2 separate regions of the Homo sapiens genome follow, and region 2 is linked to region 1. Evidence: promoter capture Hi-C in 16 types of primary human blood cells and fetal thymus (Javierre and others, 2016). All regions are on one chromosome and are shown on one strand. Each heading gives the region's core, a stretch centred on a gene start or on the middle of the fragment in contact. The rest is flanking DNA. Distances are from core to core; before and after follow the strand shown.

The links. The method cuts DNA at HindIII sites, captures the fragments that hold promoters and counts their contacts. A CHiCAGO score of 5 or more calls a contact.
Region 2: a contact is called between a fragment that was not itself captured here and the fragment with the promoter of REG3G in region 1, in 1 of 17 cell types (M1 macrophages). The highest score is 5.5, in M1 macrophages.

Annotation. Positions count from the first base shown.
Region 1 is chr2:79,022,346-79,026,958 of GRCh38, forward strand. REG3G (regenerating family member 3 gamma) reads left to right here and starts at 3,357. Exons shown (of 6, transcript NM_001008387.3): 1 at 3,357-3,428; 2 at 3,638-3,824; 3 at 4,368-4,486. The coding sequence starts at 3,749. The HindIII fragment of the contact is 2,965 bases long and covers 2,808-4,613 here.
Region 2 is chr2:79,884,728-79,889,637 of GRCh38, forward strand. The region is part of intron 6 of CTNNA2 (catenin alpha 2); the gene reads left to right. Among named protein-coding and RNA genes, the nearest start is that of MIR8080, 21 kb to the left of the region's middle. The HindIII fragment of the contact is 2,385 bases long and covers 255-2,639 here.

The sequences.
Region 1 (4,613 bases), core at 2,107-4,606:
GGAGAGTAATGATAAATTCATATTCATAACTGATCATTTTGAATAGGTAGGGACATAGAGTCAGGTAATAGAAGATAAACACCCATGTCTTCTGCTCCCACCATACATTCAAGTTTATCTGGAATTTGAGGACTGCTGGACAAAATTGAGTGAAGTTCATTCTCCTGTGTACAATTGGTATTATGGAGATTCAAAACGATCTACCAAGAGGAAGAGAGAAAGGGCCAAGCCCTTGACGATTAAAGTACCAGTTTCCAATTCTGATGGCCAGCTATTAAGATAGCCTCCAGGCACACCTCCGGCATTCATGGTTGGGCAAAATCATCTGAAAACACAGTACACTGTGGAGTATCAGCTGTTTACTTTCAAGATGGTATTGCCACCAGGGCAGTGCTTGCTGCCTATGCTGAGGCAACATGAGAGAGTACCGTACTGCATACTGCTAGCCCAGTAAAAGACCAGTATTCAAAATCTGATATAAGCCTTCTAGGGAATGCATATCACTTTCCCACCATGATACGGTAGAAAAATTATAAGTAGAACTATCATAAATCACAGACCATCTGTGTAGGGAAAAGTAACCTCTTCAGGATATTGAATCTGTCTCTCTAAAACATGATATATTTCTTCGTATATTAAAGTCTTCTTTAAAGTTTAAAAAGTTTTACATGGTCTTGACTATTTTTGTCGGATATATTTCTAGATCCTTTATATTTTTCTTCCTATTAAAAACAGTATCTTTCTTAAAAATACCCTTTCTAACTCTATTGTTGGAATACAAATGTTCATTTGGGATTTATATGTTGATCTCACATTCTTCTTGTTTACTAAATTTATCCATTAATTCTAACAACTAATTTGAAGAGTCTTCTGGGTTTTCTATGGAGACAGCATGTCATATGCAAATAGTGACAACTTAATTTACTTTTTCCCTGTTTAAATTTTTTTTTCTTTTCTAAGTGTACTTTCTATCACACGATATTGTTAAATAGAATCAATGAGGGTGGTACATTTGTATATTTCTGATTTTTTAAGGAAGTCTTGTCAGTAGTTTACTTTTGAGTCTCTATAGATTTCTTTACTGTGTTAAAGCTATTCCTGTCTAACTCTGGTTTTTAAGACTTTTTATCAGTTACTAATAGGTTTTGAATTTCACTTAACAATTTTGTTCTTTTAAAATGACTATATATTTTTTTCCCTTTTAACTTCTGAACTTGGAAATTGCATTAATAGTTCATCATAATAAACTATCATTACATTTCCAAGATTAACTCTTCTTTCTCTTCATTTATTATATAAAACAATGAATTCAATTTGTTTTGTGTTTTGTTCAGGAACTTTGCATCTGTGTTCTTGAGTCAGATTGTCCTTCAAATTTCTTTCTCACGATGGCCCTGAATTTTTCTTTTTCTCAAAATTTTCCACCAATATTTTAGATAAAAACCCAAAGACAATAGTGTTATGAATCATTATGTACCTACCACCAAGCAACAACTCTCATGACCTCAAGTCCTCTCTTGTTTTATCTGTCTCTCTCTTTCTTTATCTCTATCATGCTTGATTATTTTGAAGTAAATTCTGAATAACCATTTCATCTGTAAATATTGTGTTATGTATCTTAAATGATAAGGATACTTTAAATAATATTATTTCAATATTATAATTACATCTGAACATGATATAGTCCTTTAACATTATCAAATGCTCACTTTTACCCAATTGTTTTATAATTATATTTTTTATTTAATTTGTTCAAATCAAGATCCAAACATGGTTCACACATTTTATTTGATTGATATATTTTTCACATGTTAAGAGTGAGATGTTGTTTTATTTCCTTAAATTCACTTGCTGGGGAAATGTACTTATTTGTCCTGTAGAATTTCCCACCTTCTAAATTTTGCTGATGGTATTCCTGTGTTGTAATATAATACCATCCCCATGTCCTATATTTTCTGGAAATTGCCAGCTAGATGTTAACCAGAGATCTCAAACTGTTTTGATCTCAGGACCCTTTAACACTCTTAAAAAATATTGAGGACACTCGAAAAAAAATTTTGTTCATGTGAGCTATTGATATTTATAATAATATATAGTAAAAGAGAAAAGTTAAAAATATTCATTTACTAACTCACTTTGAACTTTTTTGAAAACATGTTAACAAAAGACCCATATGTCAGTAAGTGAAGTTTGTCTTGGTTTATTTTTCAAGTAAAAATGGTGTTCCATGAAATAGTGAACTAAAACTCAGTGTTACAAATTATTTCCCTCAAGACAACCATTATACTTTAGCATGTCAGCTTCCCATTTAGTCATACAGAATATTCCCTCTAGATGTATTCAAGGGTTGAGATTTACTGAAGCCAATTCACTACCCTGATTCATCAAGTTCAAGGGCATTTTCAAGTAAAAATGGCTTTATTTTGTTTCTTGCAAGTGCGTGGATATGAGCAATGCAATTTGGTGCCACTGCCTTGATTGATGTTAAGGCACCAGAACTTCTATCCACCATTTATTTTGCCTCATCAGTGCAAATGTCAACATAGCGAAAATGACGAATAACACTTTAGTATAATTATGAAAATTATAACTGCACAACCACTCCAAACAGGCCCTGAAGACCCCCATTGGTGTGTAGATCACAATCTAAGAACGCTACTCTGAGATATCAAACTGTCAGCGCAGAACTACAATAAACCAAGGAACTATCTCTTGGTCTTCTCACACAAAGGTAGCTGGAAGGCAAATCTATTTAACTGCTGTTCCATAAGACCCTGGCTTGCCTAATGACTCACAAGATTATTTCAAGCTTCTTTTACATCTTGCTGTGAAGTTGAAGTAGCAACACTGAACCAGTGCTGCTGCTTCTGGTTTCTATTGTTTCTTTATTTCGACTAATACATTGTCTTTGCCAACACATCTAATTTTAATGCCCACCCAATTTTTATTTATTAATTTATTTTAAATGTTACTAGATAAGGTATAAAGGAATTCATATGTATGCCTATAGAAGTGAGCTCCTGGCACGTTGATCAAAAACAAACTTTTGACATTTCTCATAACTATGTAATATCATAATATTTTCTAAACTATATAATACCAGGCTCACAAGACTGCCTTTATTCCCTTAAGTTTCTCAGAAGAAGATATCTGGAAGAGGGTGGGAAAAGTGCAAACTTCAACTGTTTGTGGGGAAAGTGCCGGCCTGCTACAGAGAAAAAGGCAACATCTGTAACAATTCCCAGCCTTTGCCAGGAAGAGTCTCCTCCCCTTGGCATAATCTTTTTGAACCAATGCCAAGCCCTCTCCATGACCCCTGTCCCGCCTACATATTGCCGTTATTCACTCCAGTGACCATCCCTGAGATCTTTTTATAAAAAACCCAGTCTTTGCTGACCAGACAAAGCATACCAGATCTCACCAGAGAGGTAAGTGGGAGCTGAGAGAAGATGAGACCTGTGGAAGGGCAACCTCACATAATACAGGAGAACGCATGGGAGGGTCCCTTCCTCAGGGAGCACAGGAGCTCTGAGACTCAGCAAGGCTGTACTGGGAGGTCTCAGGGATGGGTGAGTACACAGATTCACAGCTCATTCAGAACTGTAGAAGATGATGAATGTGACCAAGATCACTTCAGTCCTAGGGGACTACAGAAGGAAAAAGACAAGAGGCAGTAGGATATCTGTGTGTCCTCCCGCTGACCACACTTCCTTTAGTGACCCGATTGCCTCCTCAAGTCGCAGACACTATGCTGCCTCCCATGGCCCTGCCCAGTGTGTCCTGGATGCTGCTTTCCTGCCTCATTCTCCTGTGTCAGGTTCAAGGTGAGATTTCTCTGCCTCTAGCACTGGGTTCCCTATGAATCCTCAGAGCCAAGAAAAGGAGGAAGGCTCCTGTGTGTCACGTGAGGTAATGACGTGGTGTCTAATGAAACTGCCTGCAGTTCCTGCATCATCACTCCTTCCTTCATGTTAACTTGCAGTGGGAGGCTCCACTGTGGTCCACTAACAATGGAATGAGATGGCTTCCATTTAGTCAGTGGACTCTAATATACACTGGTGGGAAAGTGTGGAGGGTCAGCAATGAGATGTGGGGAGGGACAATGATTGGAGGACCCAATATAGAGATAGCCCACAGTGAAGAGAGTGTTGAATGGTTGAATAAGGGGAAAGGGTAATAACAGACTAGATGGTGGCCCATTTAGTAGGGCTATTTTGAGATAAAGAACTTCTGAAAACACAAGGGAAGATGAAGAGCTGTCAGGAATGTGGTCTTCCTCCCCAAGGGCAGACCTAGATATTCCCCAAGGTCATCTCCCACCCACCCCCTACTCTTCATTTTACTCTCTCCCTTTTCTTCCACCCCAGGTGAAGAAACCCAGAAGGAACTGCCCTCTCCACGGATCAGCTGTCCCAAAGGCTCCAAGGCCTATGGCTCCCCCTGCTATGCCTTGTTTTTGTCACCAAAATCCTGGATGGATGCAGATGTGAGTGGTTAGATGTGGGGTTGGAGGTGATAGGGGAAAGTCCATGCAGGTCTCAGGGGGAGGAGGGTCTCCTTCAGGAGAGTTCCTTGGGAATGAGGATGAACACGCTTATCTTTCACACAGTCCT
Region 2 (4,910 bases), core at 197-2,696, 860 kb after region 1:
TTTTCATCATCTCTTTAAATATGCTTTTTTTTTTTTTTCTGTTCTTGGTCAAATTGTAATTCTCTTTCCGATCTGGTATTCAGTGGATGGAAATATTGGAATGTTAACATGAGCAGTGATGCGACATCTGCATCTCAGACTGGTGCACGGAAAAATAATCCCTGGCTGGCAAGAATTGTATGTAGGCTAACTGTGAGGATAAAATAATTGTCTACTGGGGGAGCACGGGCCATGCTTCTGTGGTCACTGCCCAAAGCTTATCCCAGTTGTAGGCTTCTCTGGGTGCACACAGATATTCAAGGAGCTCCAGGCCAAAGAATGAAGTTCAGCCGTAGTAGTTCACATGGCAGCAGTCATTTCAGGTTCCCAGCCCATTTAAGGGACATTAAGAGGTTGCAGGACCTTTGAGGGGATTCACAACCCAAGATTAGTATTTGGAGATCCAGGGTTGGAGTGCATTTTCAGTGGAGAACGAAACGCTGTATAGGTAAGTCAGAGGCCCAAATATAAGACCTAGGAGATCTACACTGAAGGCTTCCGAATAAGTGAGGGTTTTTCTGTTGTGCCTCCATTTCAAATGCCACTTTTTTATGTTTTTTGAGTATTGTGATAATCAATTCTTATTGTTCCTAGAATCAGACAGATACTGCTGTGTAAGCTCTGGTCCCTTAAGGGGCCATGGCCCAGAGTTCTGACTGGCTCATGGATTCTTAATATGCTTTATTGACTTATGATTTCTTCAACATCAGGGAAGGATAAGTGTCTCCTGGGAAAATAAAATTTTCACCAAGGATCTTGTTCTGTCCCTTCTCAATTCTAGTATTTCCTTTTGCTGTAGCAACCAATATACTTATTTATCAGGGAAACTTGCCCCAGGCCTTATCTACTTCGATATTTTATAAAGTCATTTGACTACAGACATCTAGCAACCCTCCATGTTAGGCTATGAAGATTGTAAGTTTCCTATATCTTACATTACATTAGAATGAAGGTGAAGAGTTGAGATGACAGGGCCCTTCTATTAATGCTCCATAATAATTATCTCTGCTATGTGTCTGAGAAGTGATTCCCACTGAATGGCCAATAGAAGTAACCAAGAACACTGGAAAGAGTCCAGGACTTGGATTCAGGTATTGGCTACTACTCCAAGCTCTACAAATAACTAAGTATGTGTAAGCATGGGCTACTAAGCCCATCTCTAGGCCTTGGATTTTATATCTCTTAGGATAAGGTTTAGCCACCAGATAGCTAAGATCATTCATTCAAAGTGTATATGTGCCAGATGAGATAGAACAATAAGGGAGTGTCATATGTAAAAGGAGAAAATACTTAGTAAACAGCTATAGACGCTGCAATGCATAAATGCTGCTGCATACGCTTACGTATATAGTATCCACTTAACCTATTATGTGTGCGTAAGGGGGTGGAATTGGGCAAGATGAAATTGTGGAATAATTCTTGGAAGAGGAGGTAAATGAGCTGCATCTAAAGGCTAAGAAAGAATAAACATGATGAAATGTGAATGAGAGTATTTCTCAGGTAGAAAGATCATCATTGCATGCAGTTGTATGGTGGGTAAAGCCTGCATAAAGTGATTATTTCTGGGGTACAGAGGATGGGGAAAAGTCAGTCTAAGTGGGCAAATAGGAGACCAATCCTGAAGAGCTATTCAGCCTTGCAAGTGGCTGGGCTTCATGCTGAAGGCCTTAGGAAGTTACTGGTGATCTAAAGAAGGAAATGGCAGCCAGGCGCGGTGGCTCACGCCTGTAATCCCAGCACTTTGGGAGGCCGAGGCGGGCGGATCACGAGGTCAGGAGATCAAGACCATCCTGGCTAACATGGTGAAAACCCGTCTCTACTAAAAATACAAAAAATTAGTTAGGCGTGGTGGCGGGCACCTGTAGTCCCAGCTACTCGGGAGGCTGAGGTAGGAGAATGGCATGAACCCGGGAGGCAGAGCTTGCAGTGAGCTGAGATCACGCCACTGCACTCCAGCCTGGGTGACAGAGCAAGACTCCATCTCAAAAAAAAAAAAAAAAAAAAAAAAAAGAAGGAAATGGCATGGTCAGACTTGTGGGGTTTTTGTTGTTGTCGTTGTTTTGTTTGTTTTTGTTTTTGAGACAGGGTCTCCCTCTGTCACCCAGGCTGGAGTGCAGTGGCATGATCTCAACTCACTGCAACCTCTGCCTCAAGTAATCTTCCCACCTCAGCCTCCCGAGTAGCTAGGACCACAGGCACACCACCACACCCAGCAAGTTTTGGTATTTTTAGTAGACACATGGTTTCGCCATGTTGTCCAGGCTGGTCTTGAACTCCTGAACTCAAGTGATCTGCCCAACTCAGCTTCCCAAAATGCTGGGATTACAGGCGTGAGCCACAGCTCCTGGCCCAGACTTGTGTTTTTGAAGATCCCTGTGGCTGCAGTGGCTGCCGGGGGGAGAATGAGTTTGAAGAAGCAAAGCTGCAGAGTAGGGAGACAGATAAGCGTGAGAAATTAGGAATGTCTGCAGTATATCAATAGAGTAGAATTAGGAAGAAGTGGGTGAATCTGAACCATACTGAGGAAGTAGAATCAACAGGTCATGAGAATTGTACTTTTTATTTCCATATATTGAAATAGTGTTTTGTATTGTCATGTAAGCTTTAGCTAATTAAAAAACCAAACATTTTCTAGGTCTAATTATGAAATCTTGAGAAATTTCAGTCATTTTTTGGAAAATTTGATGTTTTTACATAATATAACTTTCTTGCACTGATTTTTTTGGCTCTTAGTTCATTTCCGTTCCCATCAGTATGATTGTTAAATCCCTAGTCATTTATGCAGATATTATATATTTTGAATATTCTTAAACAAAATTCTACAAAGTCTAGGATTTTTCTAACTTAGGTTAATCTGTTTGTGCTTAATTGGGCTCCTACTATGTGCTTAGCATGCTCTTTTTACTTCTTAAAAAAGAAAAAAACAACTTTTTGATACTTTTTTGAAAAGTGGAGACAAACTTTTCCATCTTTAGGGCATAGTATCAGTAACTGATGCTTAGTGGGAACCAGAAATCCTCACCTGTTCATCGTATCTTCTCCCAGTGGAGTACCTTCCAAATTTATTTCTTCTTTTTCAATGGCAAATTAAACTCATCAAAACTGCCTTTTCAATTCTTTCTAACTGGAAACAAGCAGGAGCGTTCCAGCATTCTTTATCCTACACTGACATCTGGTGGCCAAACAAAGCATTAAGAAACACTCCTGTGGGTTCTTAGATCCCTGTAAACATACTACAATTTATATATGTAATACGGGCTCAAACCCAAGGGATGCAAATATGGACAGTGTGTAGTCATCCGTCAAAAAGTGTTTAGTCTACCTATGACAACCTTCTGAACACTAATGTTATGCAATGCAAGTCCAGCTAATTCTTAAAACCATCCCTACCTCTGGGATGGTGATAAAGATAGATGCAATACATGTGAGCTTATAGGAAGAGGAGTGCAAGGTAGGGTGGTGAGTCAAGGCTGGTTCTGCTGGGTGCTTGGGGACCAGGTTAGGCATCATCGTAGACAACATAGTCTTCACTGCTTCCTGAGCTATACCGCTTCACTTTCCAGAATCCATCTTTTCTGCCCAGAAATCTCTTTCCGGGTTATTGACACCTCTTGTATAGGTTATCGATACCTCTGATATTGCTTCTAAACAGCTTTTCTTTCCTAAGGTTTTATAAATCTAGGAGTATTTTCTGATAGAATCATTTACCTTTCAATTTTTTTACTTGCTTTAAGAAATATTCCAAAACAATTTACTTTTCTCTTGCGCATTTCAATCACTAAAGATCTCTAAAAATTGTTGAGCAAATAAAAGAATGAAATTTGAAGTACTTTTTTTTATAATTGCAATTTATATCTTGATTTTTTGGCCCCCTATCAGGTTTAATCAAAATTATTATATTTCCAATCTTGGGTTATTTCTTGAGGCAGCGAAAAATGTAAGAATCTGTTTTCTTCCTAGTGTGACTGATTTTTGCTTTTGAGAATATTGACAGATTCTTTAGGTCTGATTTCACCTTTATTTCAAGTTAGTACCAAATATAATAATGAATACTGATGTAATTGATTATGATATTCAAAATTGTCTAACATGTGATGGCAAGTATAATTTTGATTGTCACTTATCTATTAGTTATACTTTTTCAAATTTCGGACCCAAATAAGGCCACTTATCTAGTGAACTCTTTATTAGAGCAACATGTGGTTTATTTAAAATGTTTGATTTTTTAATCTTTAAATACATTTAATACTTTAGTCTTTCTGTGTGATTTCTTATGTTAGTACTGCTAATCTTTACTTCTCCCTCCAGGATTATGACTTCTCGTGTGCTTCCTATGTTACAGTGCTGGGAACGTGATAGGGAGTTACTTAAATGTTCTAAGATTTAGTTTGATTCAGTGGTGAAGTAAACCACACACAAACACACACACACACGTGCAACAACTGCACGTGAAGCATCCATTTGGATTTTTCAACCATACTGCTCAACGTATTTCCTGAACTTCTTTTCCAGCAGAATATTATGGAAACTTCACTATAACCTATTGAGTCCCATTCTTTATTTCCCCAAATGTTCTCTGATACTGTCTTTTTTTCTGATTGTATAAATTCATTGAGCTAAGGCTGTAGAAAAACAATTACTCATATGCACGTATGATTAGCAGGCACCCAACATAACTGAGAACATAAATAGTCGGTTGTGGTTTGACCTGGTTACATTGGCCATGCTAAACAATGGTGGGACAGCATCTCATAGGGCAGAGAACAGGCTTGTGTTTGAATCTTACCAAATAACTCTTCCCTCTGTGCCTCTGTTTCTTCATCTATAAAATGAGATAATAATGTTGACTCCAAGTTGGTGGTAGTTTTGTG